Linked DNA regions of Homo sapiens: regions 1, 2, 3, 4 and 5 are each linked to region 6. The links are contacts of gene promoters, found by promoter capture Hi-C in blood cells and fetal thymus (Javierre and others, 2016). All regions are on one chromosome and are shown on one strand. The core of a region is centred on a gene start or on the middle of the fragment in contact, and the rest is flanking DNA. Distances in the headings are between cores, read along the strand shown. Region 1 holds the start of ZC3HC1 (zinc finger C3HC-type containing 1). Region 2 has its middle 12 kb from the start of LINC03008. Region 3 overlaps KLHDC10 (kelch domain containing 10). Region 4 overlaps KLHDC10 (kelch domain containing 10). Region 5 overlaps ZC3HC1 (zinc finger C3HC-type containing 1). Region 6 holds the start of COPG2 (coat protein complex I subunit gamma 2).

The links. Contacts are between HindIII fragments. The CHiCAGO score rates a contact against its expected background, and 5 or more counts as called.
Region 1: a fragment that was not itself captured here is called in contact with the fragment with the promoter of COPG2 in region 6 in 5 of 17 cell types (total B cells, fetal thymus, megakaryocytes and 2 more); the score reaches 6.7 in total B cells.
Region 2: a contact is called between a fragment that was not itself captured here and the fragment with the promoter of COPG2 in region 6, in 1 of 17 cell types (fetal thymus). The highest score is 5.0, in fetal thymus.
Region 3: a contact is called between a fragment that was not itself captured here and the fragment with the promoter of COPG2 in region 6, in 1 of 17 cell types (total B cells). The highest score is 5.1, in total B cells.
Region 4: a contact is called between a fragment that was not itself captured here and the fragment with the promoter of COPG2 in region 6, in 1 of 17 cell types (erythroblasts). The highest score is 5.2, in erythroblasts.
Region 5: a fragment that was not itself captured here is called in contact with the fragment with the promoter of COPG2 in region 6 in 1 of 17 cell types (monocytes); the score reaches 5.3 in monocytes.

Annotation. Positions count from the first base shown.
Region 1 is chr7:130,048,632-130,052,243 of GRCh38, reverse strand. It overlaps ZC3HC1 (zinc finger C3HC-type containing 1), which reads left to right and starts at 870. Exons shown (of 10, transcript NM_016478.5): 1 at 870-1,023; 2 at 3,100-3,211. The coding sequence starts at 878. RefSeq lists enhancers at 557-746, 807-1,116, 744-1,536. The HindIII fragment of the contact is 1,631 bases long and covers 1,359-2,989 here.
Region 2 is chr7:130,152,147-130,155,882 of GRCh38, reverse strand. No RefSeq gene overlaps it. Among named protein-coding and RNA genes, the nearest start is that of LINC03008, 12 kb to the right of the region's middle. RefSeq lists a silencer at 1,542-1,671. The HindIII fragment of the contact is 1,998 bases long and covers 505-2,502 here.
Region 3 is chr7:130,106,788-130,110,250 of GRCh38, reverse strand. All of the region lies in intron 2 of KLHDC10 (kelch domain containing 10), which reads right to left. Among named protein-coding and RNA genes, the nearest start is that of LINC03008, 33 kb to the left of the region's middle. The HindIII fragment of the contact is 4,503 bases long and covers 1-3,463 here.
Region 4 is chr7:130,126,828-130,130,677 of GRCh38, reverse strand. KLHDC10 (kelch domain containing 10) reads right to left here. Exons shown (of 10, transcript NM_014997.4): 8 at 3,227-3,274; 9 at 1,102-1,241; 10 at 1-141. Among named protein-coding and RNA genes, the nearest start is that of LINC03008, 13 kb to the left of the region's middle. The HindIII fragment of the contact is 862 bases long and covers 2,131-2,992 here.
Region 5 is chr7:130,029,907-130,033,706 of GRCh38, reverse strand. The region is part of intron 4 of ZC3HC1 (zinc finger C3HC-type containing 1); the gene reads left to right. Among named protein-coding and RNA genes, the nearest start is that of ZC3HC1, 20 kb to the left of the region's middle. The HindIII fragment of the contact is 3,209 bases long and covers 581-3,789 here.
Region 6 is chr7:130,667,401-130,670,718 of GRCh38, reverse strand. It overlaps COPG2 (coat protein complex I subunit gamma 2), which reads left to right and starts at 1,971. Exons shown (of 24, transcript NM_012133.6): 1 at 1,971-2,087; 2 at 3,185-3,237. The coding sequence starts at 2,051. TSGA13 (testis specific 13) reads left to right here. Exons shown (of 8, transcript NM_052933.4): 8 at 1,536-2,076. The coding sequence ends at 1,705. RefSeq lists silencers at 1,599-1,708, 1,799-2,388 and an enhancer at 2,659-2,768. The HindIII fragment of the contact is 8,378 bases long and covers 1-3,318 here.

The sequences.
Region 1 (3,612 bases), core at 925-3,424, 620 kb after region 6:
TTGCAGTGAGCCGAGATCGCGCCATTGCACTGCAGCCTGAGCAACAAGAGCGAAACTCCATCTCAAAAAAAATAAATAGGACGTTTTCAATAAATATTTGTTGGACTAAGGAAGGAGTATCAATAGTGTCAAATGCCACAGACTTCTAAATCCATCCATAACACGGTTTCCAACAAGGATTCTAAATTATTTGCTCTCCAATGAGGGTCACCATTTCCTCGCTTGTAGAAAGGTGCAACTTAGGAGGGTCGTATGAGTTAATTTATTTTTATTTTTATTTTTTTTGAGTCGGAGTTTTGCTCTTGTCGCCCAGGCTGGAGTGCAGTGGCGCAATCTCGGCTCACTGCAACCTCCGCCTCCCGGGTTCAAGCGATTCTCCTACCTCAGCCTCCCTAGTAGCTGGGATTACAGGCGCCCGCCAGCAAGTCCAGCTAATTTTTGTATTTTTGGTAGAGATGGGGTTTCACCATGTTGGCCAGGCTGGTCTCGAACTCCTGACCTCAGGCGATCCGCCCACCTCGGCCTCCCAAACCGCTGGGATTACAGGCATGAGCCACGGCGCCCGGCCGTATTAGTTAATATTACTTGAAAATTAAGTTGAGCCCCTCATCCCTGCTGAATTTGGACTGACAGCGTTCTAAAAATCTCTTATCAACCTAAATATGCTAGTTGATAAAGGAAACGATTAATCAAGATTGTCCTAAACAGTACAGCCCTCCTTAAGCTCGCTCTAAGGTTCTAAAATGATGAGAAAAGGCGTGGGCCCCGCGGTTAGACTTTCCCAGCCAGGCTGCCTCAAGAGGCGGATATTAACCTCCCAGGACGGAAGTTCCGGAGCCTTCAAACTCTCGGGGAAGCAACTCGGCAGCGGACCAAGATGGCGGCGCCCTGTGAGGGACAAGCGTTTGCCGTAGGGGTTGAAAAGAATTGGGGTGCAGTAGTTCGCTCCCCAGAAGGGACCCCCCAGAAAATCCGGCAGCTGATAGATGAGGGGATTGCCCCGGAAGAGGGAGGCGTGGACGCGTGAGTTCACGAGTTAACCCTGGGTCCGGCGTTGGAAGATTGAAGAAGGCTTGGGGAAGGGGTGGCGGGTTGGGGGAGGTTCCCCTCGGTCGGCGACTCGGGCAGTGGGGATGGCTTCTTAGAATCTGAAAGAAACTCTGGTTACTATGTTTGATCGGCTTTGATCTTCCCCTCGGGGTGTACCAGATTCCCAACCGCAGCCGAAATTTTGTCATCGGACATTATTTTTGGAAGTAAAGAGGACCGTTAACTGAATGAGTTCACTTGACTTCTCTTAATTGGGGATTCTTAACCTTTTTTTGTGCCGTGGACCCCTTTGGCTCTCTGGAGAAGCTTATTAACTCTCAGAATATTTTTAAATGCTTAAAGTAAATTACATAGGATTATAAAGGAAACCAGTTAGATTGGAATGTAGTTATCAAGATGGTAAAAGGAAAAAGTTACGCAGTAACAATGCTTTTTATTAAAGAGTCCATAATATCTAGTAGTATGTGTTGTCAACCATAATTTTGAAGTAGTGATGAGCACAAAGGTATTTGAAGACATGCAACCACCATAATGTGGGAACATTATTTCCATTGGTGACAAATTAGCAGGTACTGCTAATACTACTATGGTGTTTTTACCTTCATTCATAATTGAAGAAAATGCTAAATCTTGTCATTTAGAGAGAAATAAATGTCATTTTTACCCATCCAAGTTTATGGATGCTGTGAATTTTTTTTGGCCTAGAACCACACCCGCTTGAGGCTCTCTATGAATCTCTGAGAGTCTTAGAGTAAGTTTATTTCTTTTGAGCTATAATCGTTGATGTAATCCTATTTTTATTAAAATAATGCCTGTCGCCGGGCGCGGTGGCTCACGCCTATAATCCCAGCACTTTGAGGAGGCTGAAGCGGGCAGATCACGAGGTCAGGAGATCAAGACCATCCTGGCTAACACGGTGAAACCCCATCTCTACTAAAAATACAAAAAATTAGCCGGGCGTGGTGGCCCGCGCCTGTAGTCCCAGCTACTCGGGAGGCTGAGGCAGGAGAATTGGTTGAACCTGGGAGGCGGAGGTTGCAGTGAGCCGAGATCGCGTCACTGCACTCCAGCCTGAGTGACAGAGTGAGACTCCGTCTCTAAATAAATAAATAAATGCTTGTCTTTCAGCAATTCCCCAGGCACTGTTGAAATGCCTTCCACTGAAAATGAGAGAATTGCTTTGCTGAGTTTTTTTCTCCCTGATTTTTTTTTCATGAAATCTCCCGAAGATCTTTGATTCGAATTTTCTAATTGGTTCTTTTTTTTTTGGAAGGAGTGGGTATGAAAGGTCCCTCCAGGTAGAAATATCAAAATTGTTTTTTCTGCTGTTAAGAGTCGAATTTCTGCCAGGCGCTGTGGCTCACGCCTGTAATCCCAGCACTTTGGGAGGCTGAGGTGGGCCAATCACAAAGTCAGGAGTTACAGACCAGCCTGACCAACATGGTGAAACCCCGTCTGTCCTAAAGATACAAAAAATTAGCCGGGCCCACGCCTGGTGGTACGCGCCTGTAATCCCAGCTACTGGGGAGGCCGAGGCAGGAGAATTGCTTGAACCTGGGAGGTGGAGGTTGCAGTGAGCCGAGATCGCACCGTTGCACTCCAGCCTGGGCAACAGAGCGAGACTCCATCTCAAAAAAAAAAAAAGTCGAATTTCTGAAGAGATTCAAATTGTATAATGCATACTTGAAGTCTTGAGTCTTATTTTCTGTCTACTAAAGTTATGCCAAATACTTGTGGAGAACAGTGAGTGAGTGAGGAGAATAGTTTGCTAGGATTAGTGGAGCCCTGTAGAGGTAGAAATTGAAGTTTAGATATGGGTAAACTGTAAAGAGTTTTGAATGCCAGACTGAAAAATTTGGATTTTATTTAGTAAGTATTATAAAACCATTGAAAATAATAAGCTGAGGAATGACATGAGTAAAATGATTTTTAGGAAGCTTAAAATCCAGCGTTGGTGTGATTTATGATACGATGTGTAGAGAAGCTAGATAACATTTAAGCAGAGGGTACTGTGAAAGGTTTACCAACAGTTTTGCCACTTTATATTAGGAAGGACACGTCTGCCACATCCCAGTCAGTTAATGGATCACCCCAAGCGGAACAACCTTCATTGGAATCTACAAGCAAAGAAGCCTTCTTTAGCAGAGTGGAAACATTTTCTATATCCTTTTTTAGTTCATGTGAATTGCACTTTCTGCCTGCTTCTAGAATTCCTCCAAGGTATTACACCACTTACTGTGATGCTTTAAACTTAAGAATAAAACCTTGGTAAGAAATTATATAGGAAAGTCAGCATCCTAATATGTTATCACTCAGAGGGACAGTTGAGGTTATCTAACCTTTTCTTTTTACAGAAGAAAAAACTAAGAGCCTGAGAAAAGAAGAAATAATAACTAATACTTGTATATAGTATGTTTTTGTATATATTATCACATTCGATCTTGACCTTAAACCTATGAAAATAAGCATTATTATTATACTTGTTTTACAGAAGAGGAAACAGTTTGGGGCAGGTTATATGACTTGCCCAAGATGAACCTGTTAGCAAATGGCAGATCCAGG
Region 2 (3,736 bases), core at 254-2,753, 510 kb after region 6:
TCAGGCTGGTCTCAAACTCCTGACCTCATGATCCGCCCACCTCGACCTCCCAAAGTGCTGGGATTACAGGCGTGAGCCACCGCGCCCAGCCAATTGATTCATCTTCTGTCCCTTCCCCAGGCACTGGAAATGAAATGTTCAATAAATCCTGCAGAGCAAAAACAATGTAGACATGTCCACAGTGCTTCTGGAACAACATTCCAAGTATTTTTAGCCAGCGCCAACTACATAATTTGCGAGAGAACCAGAGCAAAATGAAAACGTGGGGCCCTCTGTTCAAGAATTTCAAGACAGCCACAGCAGGGCATTACACCCAGCACAGAGCCCTCCTAAGGGCCCATGCAGGCTGGGTGCAGGCCTGTGAAGACACCTCTGTGGCCCACCCCACATCACACACATAGGTGTGGTTTACAATATGAAGCACCCCATGCCAGTAGCGTTGGCTTTTCCAGCTGCTTCAGGTTTTTTGGTGAGATTTTGTCCTTGTCACAGCTCAGAAAAGCTTAGAAGGGGCCTTGGAGATCAAACAGTTGGACTGTCTTGTTTTACAGACGGCCCAGAAGCCCAGAGTGGGCCTGTCAGTGCCCAGGCCCTGCTGGTGCTGGGGTTCGAGGCCTTTCTAGAAGCGTGGCCTCAGGACACTGCTGCAAGAGGACGCCCCCTGGCGGCGCTGCTGGGGGGCTTGTTTCCTCCTGGCTTTCCCCCCCAGGCTGGCTCCTCTAACCCTCCCTGCACCTCCTGTTGCCTGCTTGGGTCAGACTCTTCCAGCCTCTGGTCAAAGCGGAGACAAGAGGTCACGCCATTGGGAGGGTCACAGGAAGGCCTGACAGTGGCCTGACAAGGGAGAGCTGGGCCCCTGCACTCTGATAATCCCCTCCACGGCCACCTCCGTGCTGAGGGCTGTGCCCCTTGGCACCGAGATGCATGCAGAGCTTACAGGAGGACTTCCTGGCTGGGCACAGCCTGCCAGCCAGGTACCAAGGACACCCTGATGGGCGCACAGGACAGTCCTGGCGGAGGCTGGAGCAGGAGGCGACGGGCTGCGGCATGGGGGTTGCACAGAGCAGAGGCAGCAGCGAGGCCAGATGGCCTGGTCCCGGGGAATGGGCAGGCGCTGAGGTGTCAGATGGGCACGCTTGTCCCCGAGGGCAGGCAGGCGGCGCGAAGCCAGGCGGAGGAGAGAGGCGGGATGAGCAGGGGGCCAGCCAGTCACGCATGTGGTCCCCAGGCAGCTGCAGGCACTGCGGGCCCTCCTGGGCCCGGACTCTGGGCCAGGCTGCGCAGCTGGCACTTGGAAAGGTGCCAGGGCTCCTGCGGGGCCTCCCGAGGAGGGGCAGGGAGCCTGGCTTCTCATGGCCACCTGCTCCTGGCTGGAGCCCAGAGCCGGCTTGTGTCAGCCTCGGGCCTGGCTCGCCTCCTGGCTTCTGACCAGGCCTGGCCCTCCCCACCACCCACCACACCCCTGCCCGCCACCCCCCTGCTGTCCCCACCACACCCTGAGGGGTTCTGGCTCCTGAGGTGCTGAGAGCTGTGAGCAAAGCAGAAGCAGTTGGGCACCGTGTCCCCTTCACACCCTGGCAGCACTGCCCCGGCCTGGGACAGCCCCCAGGTGGAGCACACAGCCCAGGCCAAACCCACACCCTGGGTTTGTGGTGTATGTGGTATGTGTAGCTCTCATGTGTATGCATTAGAACCTGGAAGCCCAGGTGTGAGAAGGCACCTTTTTCTGTCTCACCTTGAAGCAGTGTGGCCCTGCTACGGTCTCCCCAAAGGCTCCAGGGCCACACCAACACAGCTGTCCCTGCCTCACTGAGGACACGGAGGCCGATGATCACTAGTTTCCTGTAACATGGGGAGTTGTGGGCAAAAGAAACGCAACTGTTTCTCACCTGCTCCCGTGGGCTCGAGAGCTGTGAGGTGTTTGCCAAGCGGCCAGGGACCCTCAGCCCATAGTGCCTGGGTGCCCACAGCCCTTGATCGGTGGACTCTGTGGCCCCTTTCTAGAAGATGCTTTGCAGAACTGACTGCCACTCTCCTTCCTCCCCCACAGCATCTCCCTGAGCTCTGGAGAGAGGGCCTGACAGGGCTCAGGTGGAGGGAGGCAGGGTGGCCGTGGGCAGAGAGAGGGCCTGGGACCCGTGAGAAGACGGCAGGCCGAGGCCGGCGCCTCCCTGGAGCTGAGGGAGACCCGCAGGCCTGTAAGGGGCCCTATGCCTAAACCCTGCCCTCCACAGGGGCCGCTGCCGTTGTGCGCCTGGACCAGGCAGGGAGAGGGAGGAAGGTCAAAAACGGCCTCTCCTTCCTCCTTCCTCCTACCGGTCCCCGTGGCTGTTCAGGAACTGGCTCCACTGACTTTTCTGAGCTGCTCTTTGGAGCCAGGCGGTTCCCCGGGTACCAGCGCCAGGCCCAGCCTCTCCGCGGCTGCCCCCATGGCCCCAGAGGCCGGGGAGGTTCACACCCCTGTGGTGGTCACTTAGGTTTGCTGTTCTCCTGCCAGAAGCTTCTCTGCCCTGGCTGGGGTGGGGAGGGAAGAGTCCGTGTGGTCTGGCCCGGCCCTGGCCTCTGCCCGAGTGCCCCCCAGGAAGACCCTGGCTGCCAGCGCGCCAGCCCCTTCCCCGCCGGAGCCACTCCCAGTGGGGACCGCAGGCAGAGTCTGCTCGGGGCCCAGTGGCTGCCACCCCTGGCTGAACTCTTTTCTTCCCTGCATCCGTGTTCTCCGTCTGCAAAAAGAGATCAAAAATCCCCGGCTCTGAGTCAGGGGGCCGTAACCAGGGGCCTCTGCTCCTCCGCACAGCACAGCCCTCAGGAGGCAGGGACGCAGTTTGTCTCCAAAGGCGAAAACGGGCTGAGTGAGCCACTGTCTGCTCCTGCCCGTGCTGCCTGCCTGCGTGCGTGGCAAACGTGCCCTGCCTGGAGTCACAGTTCCTAAGTCCCCGTCACAGACTCCCACGCAGGGCAGGGGGCCATGGGCCTCTGGTGTATCTGGGGAATGTGGTTGCAGTGTGAGGGTGTGGTGTGTGGTGCATGGTGCGTATGTTTGTGTGGGGTGTATGTGGTTTGTGGTGTATGTGGTTTGTGTAGGTGTGGGGTGTGTAGAGGGGTGTGAGGGTGTATTTGTGTGGTGCATATGGTGTGTGCAATACATGTATGGGGCTGTGTATATGGTGTGTGTGTGTTTCTGGTTTGTGGTGTATGTGGTATGTGTAGCTCCAATGTGTATGCGTGGTATATGGTGTGTGGGGGTTAGCAGGTTGTATGGGTGAGTGTTGGGTGGTGTTTGTGTGATGTGTGGTGTGTGTGGTTTGTGGTATGTATCTGTGGCTTGTGTGTGTGTGTGTGGTCTGCAGTGTGTGTGGCTTGCGGTGTGTGATGTGTATTTGTGTGGTGTGTGTTTTGTGGTATGTTTGTGTGGCTTGCAGTGTGTGTGTGTGTGTGATGTGTGTGCGGCTTGTGGTGTGTGTGATGTGGTATGTTGTTTCTGGTGTGTGTTTCTGTGATGTGGGTGGCTTGTGGTGTGTGATGTGTGTGTGGCTTGTATGTGTGGCTTGTAGTGTGTGGTTTTTTATTTGTGGTGTGTGTGGCCTGTGGTGTGTGTGTTTGTGTGATGTGGTGTATGTGGCTTATGGTGTGTGTTTGTGATGTGTGTGTGGCTTGTGTGTGGTTTGTGGTCTGTGGTGTATGTGGCTTGTGATGTGTGTATGATGTGGCATGTGTGGCTTGTATGTGTGGCTTGTGG
Region 3 (3,463 bases), core at 353-2,852, 560 kb after region 6:
CCAGGTGATCAAAATTAACATCACCAGTAATGGGACAAATCAATCAACATCATGTGCAATGAGATGATCACAATATTATTTCAGTGGTAGTCCTGCCAAAAATATATAAGCTGAATGTAACTATGAGAAAATGGGGAGAAACCCAAACAAAGGGACGTTTTACAATATACCTAGCCTGCAACTGTTCAAAAATATCAATGTCAAAAAGACAAACGCTGAGAAACTGTTCAACACTGAAGGAGGCTAAAGATACATGACAACAGAATGTAACACACAATCTCAGATTTTCTACTGCTATTAAAGAACATTATTGGCCCAGCACGGTGGGTCATGCCTGTAATCCCAGCACTATGGGAGGCTGAGGCGGGCAGATTGCCTGAGGTCAGGAGTTTGAGACCAGCCTGACTAACATGGTGAAACCCTATCTCTACTAAAAATACAAAAATTAGCCACGCGTGGTGGTGGGCACCTGTGATCCCAGCTACTCGGGAGGCTGAGGCATGAGAATCGCTTGAAACTGAGAGGTGGAAGTTGCAATGAGCTGAGATTGCACCACTGCACTCCAGCCTGGGCAACAGAGTGAGACTCCGTCTCAAAACAAACAAACAAAAAGAACATTATTAGGATAGTGGCAAAATAATAATGGCAAAATCTGAAACAAGGTCTGTAACTTATATAGTAGTATTAATTGTACCCATTATTTATAGGGTTAATAATCAGTGTTGATGCCTAATTTTGATACAGGTTCTGCAGTTATGGAAGAGAATGTCTGTTTTTCAGGAGCAAACACTTTGGTACACAGACATAAAGAGATATGGCAAAATAGTGAAACCCTATCTGTACCGACCCTGCCAAAAAAAATTAGCCAGGCATGGTGGCACATTCCTGTAGTCCCAGCTACGTGGGTGGCTGAGGTGGGCTGGAGGATCGCTTGAGTGCAGTAAGCTATGATTGCACCCCTGCACTTCAGCCTGGGTGACAGAACAAAACTTCATCTCTAAAAAAAATTAAATTTTAAAAAATTAAAAAAAAAAAAAAGAGACCTGCTGGGCTCAGTGGCTCACATCTGTAATCCCAGCACTGTGGGAGGCCAAGGCGGGTGGATCACTTGAGATTAGGAGTTCGAGACCAGCCTGGTCAACACGGTGAAACCCTGACCCTACTAAAAAAATACAGGGTGTGGTGGCGCACACCTGCAGTCCCAGCTACTCAGGAGGCTGAGGCGGAAGAATCACTTAGACCCCGGAGGCGGAGGCTGCAGTGAGCTGAGATGGCGCTGTTGCACTCCAGCCTGGGCGACAGGGTGACAGCCTGTCTCAAAAAAAGAGAGAGAGAGCAAGACATCATGTCTGCAATTTTCAAATGGTTGAAACAGAAAAATATGTATGTGCGTATTGTGTATAAAGGGGGGAAGGGAGAGAGGAGAGGGAGCAGGATAAAGTAAAAGACAAAATAACATTTGGGGAATCTGGGTAAAGGATACAGGAGACATTTTTTTCCCTTTTCTTTCTTTTTTTTTTTTTTTGTTTGAGATGGGGTCTCGCTCTGTCGCCCAGGCTGGAGTGCAATGACTCAATCTTGGCTCATTGCAACCTCCACCTCCCGAGCTCAAGCGATCCTTCCACCTCAGCATCCTGATGAGTGCTGGGACCACAGGCGCGCACCACCACGCCCAGCTTTTTTTTTTTTTTTTTGGATATTTGGTAGAGACGGCGTTTCGTCTCGTTGCCCAGGCTGGTCTTGAGGCGGCTAACTCCTGAGTTTAAGCGATCCACCTGCCTCGGCCTCCCACAGTGCTGGGATTACAGGCGTGAGCCACCGTGCCCGGCCAGGATACAGGAGAATTTCTACCATTTTTGCAATTTTTGCAATTAAACCGGAAGTTCTATGGCAATTAAAATTCTATTTTTAAAAAGTCCCTTGAGGATTTTATCTGGGATAACCCATTAAGGAACATAATCCCTAGCCATTTATTCTTGTCTTTTTTGATGTCCATGAGTATAGTTTCTTTTTTCTTTTTTTTTGAGACAAGTCTCGCTCTGTCGCCCAGGCTGGTGTACAGTGGCGCGATTTCGGCTCACTGCAACTTCCGCCTCCGGGTTCAGGCGATTCTCCCACCTCAGCGTCTGGAGTAGCTGGGACTCCAGGCGCACACGACCTCAACCAGCTAGTTTTTTTTTGTTTTGTTTTTTGTTTTTTTTTTCCCGGGGAAGGGTTTTTTGTTTTGTTTTGTTTGGAGACGGAGTCTTGCTCTGTCCCCCAGGCTGGGGTGCAGTGGCGCGGTCTCACCTCACTGCAACCTCCGCCTCCCGGGTTCCAGCCATTCTCCACCCTCAGCCTCCAGAGTAGCTGGGACTACGGTACGGGCCACCGCGTCCGGCTCTTTTTTTTTTTTTTTTTTTTTTTTGAGACGGAGTCCCACTCTGTCGCCCAGGCTAGAGTGCAGTGACGCGATCTTGGCTCACTGCAACCTCTGCCTCCTGGGTTCGAGCAATTCTCCCGCCTCAGCCTCCCGAGTAGCTGGGATTACAGGCGTGCACCACGACGCCCGGCTAATTTTTGTATTTTTAGTAAAGACTGGGTTTCGTCATGTTGGCCAGGCTGGTCTTGAATTCTTGACCCCACGTGAACCGCCCACCTCGGCCTCCCAAAGCGCTGGGATTACAGGCGTGAACCATGGCACCTGGTCGCCCAGCTAGTTTTGTATTTCATCAAGTTTCATTGTTTTATTGTTTTTTTATTTCTAAGTACTTTATAAATTTCCATACAATTGTAACTAGATACCTCTTTTATTTTGTAATTGGTTGCTGTTAATATATAGGAAGGTGGTTTTTTGCAAGTTTAAATTTTGTCCAGCCAATTTTCTGAACTCTAGTATTAGTTATCATGAATTATCTTGAATTTTATAGGTAGACAATCAGATCATCTGTTATTAATGCCAACTTTAACTCTTCTTTTCCAATATGTGTACTTCTTTTTTCTTTTTCCTGGTCTTCTACTGTATTGGCTGAAAACTCCAGAACAAGGTTGAATAGTGGAGATGACAGTGGACATCTTTGTCTCGTTTTTTTTACTTTAATGAGGACACTGGTAAGGTTATGCCGTTATGTATTATGTTTGCTATTGGTTTCTTATCAATAAATGATACATCATATATGATATTTACTACTGGTTTCTTATAGTATTCTGTCATAAAATAAATCTTCTTTTATCCCTGGATGCGTAAGAATGTTTTCCCTTACCAGGAATGGATGTGGGGTTTATTTGTTTATTTATTTTTGAGACAGGGTCTTGCTCTATTGCCCAGGCTGGAACGTAGCAGTGTAATCACTGCTCACTGCAGCCTTGACCTCCCAGGTTCAAGCAATCCTCTCATCTCAGCCTCCCAAGTAGCTGGGACCACAGGTGTGTGCCACCACGCCCGGCTAATTTTTGAATTTTTTCTTAGAGACAGAGTGTTGCC
Region 4 (3,850 bases), core at 1,312-3,811, 540 kb after region 6:
AAGGTTAGGGAAGGCCGCAAGCAGCTTCTCCCATGCCAGTTCCAGCAGGCTAGGTACCACCAGCCAGATCTTAAACAATGACCCAGTCCGTTTGTTTTCATGGATGTTCACCACTCCTCCATGAATGTACATGCAACCAGCCTATGAGTAGTCAAAAGAGGACAAATTCAAACGGGAGAGAAACATACAAGGCTGAAGACTCAGTGGGGAAAAAGCATAGTAGATGGAATCAAAATGAAATGAAACAAGAATTCCTCACTGATCCCAATACCATGTGGAGATCAAGAGGGTTTAAATAATTAATGAATTACTAAGGGAAAAACTATATATATATATATATGATTTTTTTTTTTTTTGAGACAGAGTCTCACTCTGTCGCCCAGGCTGGAGTGCAGTGGCGCAATTTCAGCTCACTGCAAGCTCTCCGCCTCCCGGGTTCACGCCATTCTCCTGCTTCAGCCTCCAGAGTAGCTGGGAATACAGGCACGCGCCACCACGTCCGGCTAATTTTTTTTTGTATTTTTAGTAGAGATGGGGTTTCATCCGTGTTAGCCAGGATGGTCTCAATCTCCTGACCTCGTGATCCGCCCACCTTGGCCTCCCAAAGTGCTGGGATTACAGGCCTGAGCCACCGCGCCCGGCCTATATATATGAATTTTTTTTTACTTCAACAACAAACAATTTCACTATTAACTAACATTAAACTAAACCTATATTAAGTATCCAAGATGCCAAATACTGGGAATACAAAGATGAAAATAAAGGCCTTTGCCTTCAAGAAATGAGCAGGATCTTCAATAATATGGTATCAAGGGGGTAAAACTATTCCGCCCTCCCAGGAAACACCTTTGACATCACGGTCAGGGCCGGAATGCCACAGGTAGCATTTCTCTTACATTTATGTTATTCTCTCAAATTTGGGTGTGATGATTTTTCTCCTCTTTTCTTAGAGGAGGGCCTAGCTTTGGAAGGAAGTTTTAAAAATATGTTATTAATCATCTAAGGTTTGCCTATATCTGGCTTTTTTTCTTGCTAATATCTCTAAAAAGATTTCCTTATCATCTGTAACTACATAAGGAAGATATGAAAATAAAAACTTACTGGTGTAACAGCTGCACAGTGAAAATAAACTGGCTCTGGCATGGTAGCTGGGAGCTTCACCCATTGGAAAGTCTGCAGATTCAACTTCCAGATATCTCCCAGGATCACCTCTCCATTATAGCCCCCACAAATAAATACATCTATGAAGAAAAGAGAAAGCCAAGATCACACAAAGGAAAAGAGCCAAAGCTATGGAGTGTTTTAGAGTAGGTCACACAGCCAGCTGACATGCGGCCAGTGAAGTGGATTGCCCCATGACACAGACGACTTCTGCTGTGCAGCCTCTCATGCTGTTGTCTTGTCCCTCAACAGAACTGAGATGCTATGTCAGGGTCTTCCCTGGGACTAAGAATGCAAGCCTCTAAGGAGCCTTCATGTCAAAGTTACCAAATTCAAACACATACCTACAGATTCCAGGCACAGAAAGTAAATGAGCAAGGGGGTCTAGGGAAGATAAACAAACAGAAGTCTCAGGAAAACAGACAGAAATGCTCATGCTCTAAAAGAGGCGACAGCTATGCAGCCCCAGCTGTTCGGTCCTATAACAGACTTAAGGCTGGCAATTGCCAGATCGTCCATTTTTTTCAAGGCAAGTTGGAAATCTGGTTATGTTTTTAAAAATGAAACATTTTGATTTTTAAGTTTTGGCTAGTATGTATATATATATATATATATATATATATATATTTTTTTTTTTTTTTAAGAGACAAGGTCTCACTATATTACCCAGGCTGGTCTTGAACTCCTGGGCTCAAGTGACCCTCCCGCCTCAGCCTCCCAAAGTGCTAGGATTACAGGCATGAGCCACCATGCCTGGCCTCAAAAAAAATTTTAATACACATATGAGCCAAACAAAACACATTTGCAGGCCACCAGTTTGCAAACTCTTCTTTAAATAATGTCCTGGAAAGAATATACATTTATCTGCTCGCAGAGACTAAAGTCTCTATGTAGACATTTAACCTGAGGAGGAACGTTCACTTCACTGCAATGTTCAGTTTAGGAACACAAAAGAGGCTCTTCCAAGCTTTCTTCGGCGAGAAGAGGACAAACTGAAGCTCTGTTTGATCTGTACAGTTATTAGGAATAATTTTCCCAAAATGAAAGGTGTGGGTTTTCTGGTAAAATCAGTTAGTTATAACTAATTAGATAACTTGTAACAAAGGCTATGTGAACCTTCAAACGAAATGCCTAGAACTAAGGTTGAATTCTATTTGTATGGTGCTTGGCCTCAAAGAATTAAATGAATAAATTTCTTAACTCAGGTCTAGACCAAGTTTAAGCCAATACTTAAGCTATAAAATGCACTGGAAACTTTTTTGGCTAGGATTCAAGGAAAACTGAAAGTACAGTTCCATTCTCACAGAGAGAAATGTGAGCAATGTCATTATCTATAAATCTTATCCAGAAAGCAGGAGCACAATAAAAAATCCCTCTGAACTAGAGATGGCAGAATAATCCTAGTTGTATCTGAACTAAGTTGCTAAAAGCATACAGGCTATCTAACTCATTTATACATGCTTTCCTCCCAGAAAAAATTTAAGAGCTATATCAGACGATGAAATAAGTTGTAAATTAAAAGACAGGAAGGTTATCCAGAGAGGAGTCACTTATCACATTTAGTTAAAGTAGCTGCAGCTGCTTTCTGAAGCCATACAATGCCTTTGTTGTAATATGGCCAAAGAATGAGTGAAGAGTTCCATTTGGCATCAGAGAGAGAACAGAATCAACTTTATGAAATAACACTCTGAAGGAGTTATTACAATTTTAATACAATGTTCGCTGAGGTCTCTACAGTATAAACAGTCAAGATTATTAGTATTAGCCACCATAACCACAGACATCTGTTGAGGTGTGGGATGCTGAAAGATCAAGTGCTACAATAAAAGCTTATTTATCACCATTTTTTGAGTTCTCTAATAACTGAAGGAACCCAAACACCATACTAGTTTACATTATGAAAACAGCTGACAGAGGCATAACTATGAATTTCCCTTTAAGTTTACAAGAAATAGACTTTTCTCAAAGTTATGAGCCTCTTTTGAGGGGGCTATCTTAGGAAATAAGACATTTTCAGAAGATACAATTACAGAAATGGAAGCAAAATGTTATTTAGAATCCTTACCATTTTTTATTTGAACACAACTGTGACACCTTCGGGCTGCAGGAAAGCCTGCCAAACACACAAACACAGAAGTTCCATTACTTACAGAAAGACTGGGAACCACACTGATATAACACAGTGAAAGACACACTACGTGTAACTCAAAACAATCCCTTTGTTACATGTTAAGCAAACATTGACTAGTCCTTCCACTCCCTCCTTATTTCAAAAGCCATCAGGAGTCTCATCATAACAGTACAATGCTAAGGTGCCGGAAACAAAGAGGGAAAGGACAGGAGTTGCTAGTGGCTTTCCCAAGCCCTTTTACCCACAAGGAGATAGGTAGATCTTTATTATTTATTTAATTTAGAGACAGGGTCTCACTGTGTTGCCCAGGCTGGAATGCAGCAGTGCAATCTTGGCTCACTGCAGCCTCCGCCTCCTGGGCTCAAATGATCCTCCCACTTCAGCCTCCTCAGTAACTGGGACTACAGGTGCACACCACCACACCCAGCTAATTTTTTGTATTTTTAGTGGAGACAGGGTTTCACCATGTTGCACAGGCTGGTCTCGAACTCCTGGGCTCAGCCTCCCAAAGTGCTGGGATTATAGGCATGAGCCACCATACCCAGCCGGTAGATCTTT
Region 5 (3,800 bases), core at 936-3,435, 640 kb after region 6:
ACCGAGGCAGGCAGATCACGAGGTCAGGAGTTTGAGACCATCCTGGCTAACACAGTGAAACCCCATCTCTATTGCAAATACAAAAAACAAGCCAGGCATGGTGGCACGTGCCTGTAGTCCCAGCTACTGGGGAGGCTAAGGCAGGAGAATTGCTTGAACCTGGGAGGCAGAGGTTGCAGTGAGCCGGGATCGTGTCACTGCACTCCAGCCTGGGCGACAGAGCAAGACTCCGTCTCAAAAAAAAAAAAAAAAAAAAAAAAAGAATGCTATAGAAATGCTACAGACAATGCTAAAAGAATAGAATAGCCAGCTTAAAGGAGATCCATTACCCCACTTGTGAATATCTGAAACTCAAATAAGAGAATAATCATTACAATTAAACTAAAATGCAGCCAGGGTAGTCCCAGCACTTTCGGAGGCTGAAGTGGGCAGATTGCTTGAGTCCAGGAATTCAAGACCAGCCTGGACAATATAGTAAAACCCCATCTCTACAAAAAATACAAAAAATTAGCTGGGCATGGTTACGCATACCTGTGTTCCCAGCTACTCGGGAAGCTGAGGTGGCAAGATCGCGTAAGCTTGGGAGGTTAAGGCTGTGGCGAGCCATGATTGCACCACTGCACTGCAGCAAAGGAAAAAGATGGTGTCTCTCTCTATTGCCCGGACTGACCTTGAACTCTTGGGCTCAAGTGATACTTCTGCCTCAGTATCCAGAGTAGCTGGGTTTACAAGTGCCACCTGGCTAATAATAATTAATTTTAAAAATTAATTTTAGTAAGCAGGAGAGCACTGATATATTTGTAAGTATTATTTCTTCTATCAGGTAGTCCATCCCTCCCTTCCTCCCTCCCTCCTTCCCCTCCTTCCCATCTTTCCCTTCCTTCCCTTCTTTCTTTTCCTTCCCTTCCTTTCCTTCCCTCCCCTCCCTCCCTTCCCTCCTTCCCTTCCCCCCTTCCCCTCTTACTGTCCCTCCCTCCCTCCCTCCTTCCCTTCCTTCCTTCCTTCCTTCCTTCCTTCCTTCCTTCCTTCCTTCCTTCCATTTCTTCTATCAAGTACACGTTTCTCTCTCCTCTCTCTCTCTCTCCCAGGCTACAGTGCAGTGGCACAATCATAGCTCACTGCAGCTTTGAATTCCTGGGCTTAAGCAATCCTCCTGCCTCAGCCTCCTGAGTAACTATGACTACAGGCGTATGCCACCACATCCAGCTAATTTTTTTTTTTTTGGTAGAGATGGGGTCTCACTATATTGCCCAGGCTGATCTCAAACTCCTGGCTTCAAGTGATCCTCCTACCTCAGCCTCCCAAAATGTTAGGATTACAGTCATGAGCAACTGTACCTGGCCTCAAATTCATGTTTCTTGTCTCAATCTGTGTAGGATGTCTTCAGTGGGGATGGTGGAGGAAGGGCATCTGAAAATCTTCTATGAGAGCAAAAAGAACACTTACAAAAATTATCAAAATCAACTTACTTTTTTTTTTTTTTTAGAGGGAATCTTGTTCTGTTGCCCAGGCTGGAGTGCAATGGCGTGGTCTCGGCTCACTGCAACCTCCACCTCCCAGGTTCAAGCAATTCTCCTGCCTCAGCCTCCCGAGTAGCTAGGATTACAGGCACCCACCACCATGCCTGGCTAATTTTTGTATTTTTAGTAGAGACAGTGTTTCACCATGTTGGCCAGGCTGGTCTTGAACTGCTGACCTCGTGATCCGCCCACCTCGGCCTCCCAAAGTGTTGGGATTACAGGCGTGAGCCACTGTGCCCGGCCTCAAAATCAACTTTCACAGGACGATTGGACAGAGATTTCTTTAAATGCCTGAACAAATAAGTCCCCCAGTCTTGCCAAGGAGCTCTGTGTGTGGTGGGGGGAGCACACCTTCAGTAGTCAAGCAGGCAGTTTGCAGTTCTGTGTTAGCCTTCACTTCCTGCTTGTGCAGAACCTCAGCATCAGCCAGAGATGAGAGAGCTTAGGGCCTTTTCAGGTCTTTGCTGGGCATGTGTATAGCTCTATACCTGCACATGTCCTTCTAGATTCCAGGGAATATGTCAGAGCCTTTCAAGCCTGCCTATGGACATTTCATTTCCCAGCTTTTAAGGTTTTTGGTCAGCTTGTTACTTGCTCCAACTCATACTGCTGCCTCAAAGCAACTGTGATGTTAAACAGTTGCCAATGATCATTTTTGAAAACCTGTCTGGGGAAAAGGGTGTTCTCACTGCGACAGTATAATGTTCTAGGCAACTGCCACACAGATCAAATAATGGTGGTTCTCTGGAATGGGGCTTTGGAGGAGCTCCACCTCTTTTCTGTGCTCTCCGGTGACTGCTAAGCTACTGGTTTTCACCATGATTGTGGGGATGTTGGTTTTCTGTTTTTTTTTTTTTTTTTTGAGATGGAGTTTTGCTCTGTTGCCCAGGCTGGAGTGCAATGGCGCAATCTCAGCTCACCAAACCTCCGCCTCCCGGGTTCAAGCGATTCTGCCTCAGCCTCCCGAGTAGCTGGGATTACAGGCATGCGCCACCATGCCTGGCTAATTTTGTATTTTTAGTAGAGACGGGGTTTCTCCATGCTGGTCAGGCTGGTCTCAAACTCCCGACCTCAGGTGATCCACCCACCTTGGCCTCCCAAAGTGCTAGGATTACAGGTGTGAGCCACCACGCCCCGCTGGGATGTCGGTTTTCAAGGCTACCACAGAGCTGAGCTGGGGAAGGGAAGATGGAAACAAGAGTTAAAACATCACAAAATGGGCTGGGCGCAGTGGCTCACGCCTGTAATCCCAGCACTTTGGGAGGCCGAGGCAGGCGGATCATGAGGTCAGGAGATCGAGACCATCCTGGCTAACACGGTGAAACCCCGTCTCTACTAAAAATATAAAAAATTAGCCAGGCGCAGTGGCGGGCGCCTGTAGTCCCAGCTACTCGGGAGGCTGAGGCAGGAGAATGGTGTGAACCCCAGGAGGCGGATCCTGCAGTGAGCCGAGATCACGCCACTGCACTCCAGCCTGGGCAACAGCGAGATTGTCTCAAAAAAAAAAAAAAAGATTATGAGTGACTTTGTTGAGCAACTAAATGTCAATTTGAGGCTGAGAGAAGACCAGTGACTCGAGTGGCTTCCTACTTTTTAGACGATCAGGCTAGGATGACATGTTCTCTCTTCACTTTTCCTATGAATCCCTTCCAAAACGTGTTTTCATTCTTTATTAAAGCTGATTCAGGGCTGGGCGTGGTGACTTACGCCTGTAATCTCAGCACTTTGGGAGGCCAAGGTGGGTGGATCACCTGAGGCCAAGAGTTAAAGATCAGCCTGGCCAACATGATGAAACCCTGTCTTTATTAAAAATAGAAAAATTAACCAGGTGTGGTGTCAGGCACCTGTAATCCCGGCTACTCAGGAGGCTGAGGCAGGAGAATTGCTTGAACCTGGGAGGCAGAGGTTGCAGTGAGCCGTGATCGCACCATTGCACTGCAGCCTGGGCGACAGAGCAAAAACTCTGTCTCGGAAAAAAAAAAAAAAAAAAAGGCTGATTCAGTGTAGCTTCTACTTCATTCTAGGCCTACTAGACTGACCTCTTTAGGAAGTAGCTTAGCAAGGCCTTTCTGCACTCATCATTTGCCTTTGTACCAGTGTACCAAGTATGCAGTAGATGAATTGGGTAATGCCAGAGATAATTATACTATAGTATATAATCAGTTTCCACACTGCTTAGATTTCAGGCAGATTCCTTCTTTTCCAACTTAGGTATTACCAGTAGAATTCCTAATTGTATACTTTATTTACTCTGGTACCCAGTTAAGCTTCACCTTACAA
Region 6 (3,318 bases), core at 722-3,221:
GAACCTAGGAGTTCAAGGTTGCAGTTAGCTGTGATTATGCCATTGCACTCCAGCCTGGGTAACAGAGTGAGACCCTGTCTGAAAAACAAACAAACAACAATAACAAGAAATCGAAAATACCACAATGCCTTAAATATTATTTAAATAAAGGTTTGGGTTTTATCCAGTAGGCAGTTTGGACCCAATGAAGAATTTCAGGGCACTGAGTACACATTTGTGTATTAGATATATATAATTGGTGGGTCCTCAGACTTCACCAGCTCATGGTTTTAAGATAAGGTCCATTTCTCCTACTGGGTTTCTCTCCTCAAACAATTCCTGAGACTCCCTAAGGTATCCTTGCCTGTCCCACAAAGCCATTGCAGTGATTGCTCAACCCGTCTGCCAGCCATCCTCAGTCCAAATAGTCCTGATACCGAAGGCCTGGGGTCATATTATACCATCCCTTAACTGGCTTCTTCAGGCTTCTCTGCTCCTGCTATACCTATCTGCCACCACATCCCATCCCATTTCCACCTACTGATGCTCTTAACTCCGTAAATACTGCACAGCTAAAAACAACCTGTGGTATTAAACAAAACTTCATAGATATACAGAAAAGCTGAAGAACAGCAGAGAATGATTGATCTTGCTTTACAAGGGGCTAGTCTTAGGGTCAGCCCCAAATCTGAACTCAGGTCCTTCTACTTCTCAGCAGGTCTCCGGGGCATTACCCACCTTGAGAACCTCTGGGCCTATTATCTACACTGTCTCTGCCTAGGTTCCCAATACCCTTGGGCCAAGGAAGAGGAAGAGGATGTTTCCTTCCCCAAAGCCTGTTTATTTTCACCCCCAGAATAAATGAGTGCAGACTTCTATTTCCTTCAAAGAAAACTCCACCTACAAAGTATGACTTGACCTTTACAAGCCATATAAAGCAAACATAGTAGTTAATAGTACATTTAGTCAAGTCGGAGTTAAATCTTAAATGATACCATATGTAGGATATCAACAGTTCATCTTAAATCTGTATTTCAGGGAAAGAATTTCTCTAGGATGTAGAATGTAATCTAGGTTAGAATTTCTCTAATTTTGCAGGGGCACGATCCTGTTGAGTATAGACCCAATTTACATTTCTAAACAAGTTATGCCAGTGAAGCCAAAGGCAGACAAAGTTTCTTAGCTACACTCTTAGACAAGAGAACAGAAAGCCAGCATACACTCTGAGAAAAAGAGGAACATGAGTTAGGAATGAATGCACGTTAATTTAGTGAGTTTCTTAAGTGTCAATATGGTTTCAGATGGAATCATTGAAAGAAATAGGCTTGAACAAGGAAGACTCTAAACTGGCAATGAATTTTCCACTGGGTTTTGATGAAATGAAGGAATCCAAAAATTATAAAATAGGTTGGGAATGGTATTACACGGTCCAAAATCTACCCTCTAAAGACCAGCCTCTGGTCCCTCCAAGTGCGTCTCCTTTACATCTCACATTAAGTATCCTTCGAGTACTTCTGAAAAGCCACATTCACCAGGGTGCCTGTGCTTTGTCGTAGCTTCCAAGAAGTCAGCGAGTGAAAGGCCAATTTCCAAAGTGATTCGGGAACCACTGACACTCGCATCGCTCTTGGAAGACATGCCCACCAGAACCGCGCCCGGGGAGAGCGCCTTCCGCAACGGGAGGGCCCCGCAGTGGATTATCAAAAAGGCCACGGTCATCGGGTGAACACAGACCCCTCAGTCCTCCCGCCTCGCTCTCTTGAGACTGAGGGGTCCGCAGAAGTCGCCACCCAAATAAAACCACATTCCTGCTGCTGCGGGCGTGGGCTCCCGGGTCGCAAGCCGGGAGGGTCGAGCCGAAGTCTCCGGCGGGCCGCAAGAGGAGAAGGGGGCGTGGCTGCGTCCCGGGGGCCGAGGGCGGCCGGGGAGGGCGGGCCTTGGCCCCGAGTGAAGGCGCGGCGGCCCAACCGGCGTGAGAGCGCGGGGCCGGCCTTCCTGCAGCCTCTTCCGCTCGCCGGCTGCGGCGCCTGGGACGGTTGCGGTGGGTCTGGGCGCTGGGAAGTCGTCCAAGATGATTAAAAAATTCGACAAGAAGGACGAGGAGTCTGGTACGCGCGGGGCTTCCGAGGCCCACCCTCAGCCGCGGGACGCCCCTTCCCCCGCCCGCCGCCACCTGCTTTCAGGCCGGCGGGGCTGGGGGCGTGGGCGCCGCCGTGCCAGGGGGCCGGAGCTGGAGCCGGCCCCTCCCCTCCCCTCGCGGCTGCCCGGGGCCTGCCCGTAGCCCCTCCCCCGGGCGCCGGAGCCTCCCTTCGGGCCGCGCGCTCCCGCCCCGGCGCCCGCGCGCGCCCCGTTCCCGCCCCTCTTGCGGCGCAGCCCCTCCGAGCCGCCTCCTCCCCTGCGCGCGGGCCTCCGGCGGGGGCCGAGGGCGTGCGCGCGTCTCCGCGTCCAGGGGTGCTGGTAGGGTCGGACCCCTAGTGGGAGCACCCTGTTCCCGGGGCTGGGGTCGACGGCACAGGGTGTGTGTGGAGGAACGTTCAGGTGCCTGGTACCTTATCGTTTTCCTGGGGTCACCGGCTCTGTCCAGGTCCCCGGGGGCAAGACTGTCCCGTGGGACACAGCTCGTTGAATGCTCAGGTGTCCAGAAGTGACCTGCGTCTTGATGCCCGTCTTTGGTCCAGAGCAAATGGGGAAGATGCCAAGCATCCTCAAAAAGAAAAAAATTCTCAGTGTTTGGTAGCATCTCCCACAGTGTGAGAGGGGGTTGGGTTAGTCAACCTCCATGGCCTCTTGCACCTTTACGCCTGCATGATTCTCTGGGAAACTTCGTTTCTGCCTCTCCTTAAGTGTTAGAAACACATAAAATACTGCTTACCTAAGGAAATCAAAAGCACCCTACTACAATCTCATTAATCTTCGTTGTTGTGGAAATGACACATTTTTAACATTCATGGAAAAAGAGGGCAGGGAAAGAAGACACTCATTTTGGAGAGGGTTGCTGCGAAAGAGAAGTCTCAGCTCTTCGAGTATGGCAGTGACAGAGCCGGGATCAAAATGATTTCATTCAGTTCGTATGCGTATTAGCCATGATTATCACTGTGCCATCCAAGTGTTCACTTCCCAAGCATTCAGTACCCTTCTCTGGAAAGTATATAAGTTTGTGTAGAACAGCTGTTCAGGACATTTTTTTGTTTTGTTTTATAAATAGGTAGTGGCTCCAATCCTTTCCAGCATCTGGAGAAGAGTGCTGTTTTACAGGAGGTATGACTGGGAAGTATCTTGTGCCCTTTCTTTTCTATTCTGTTTTAGAGTGGTGGGCAGAGAATCCCTGGGCTGCTGTGA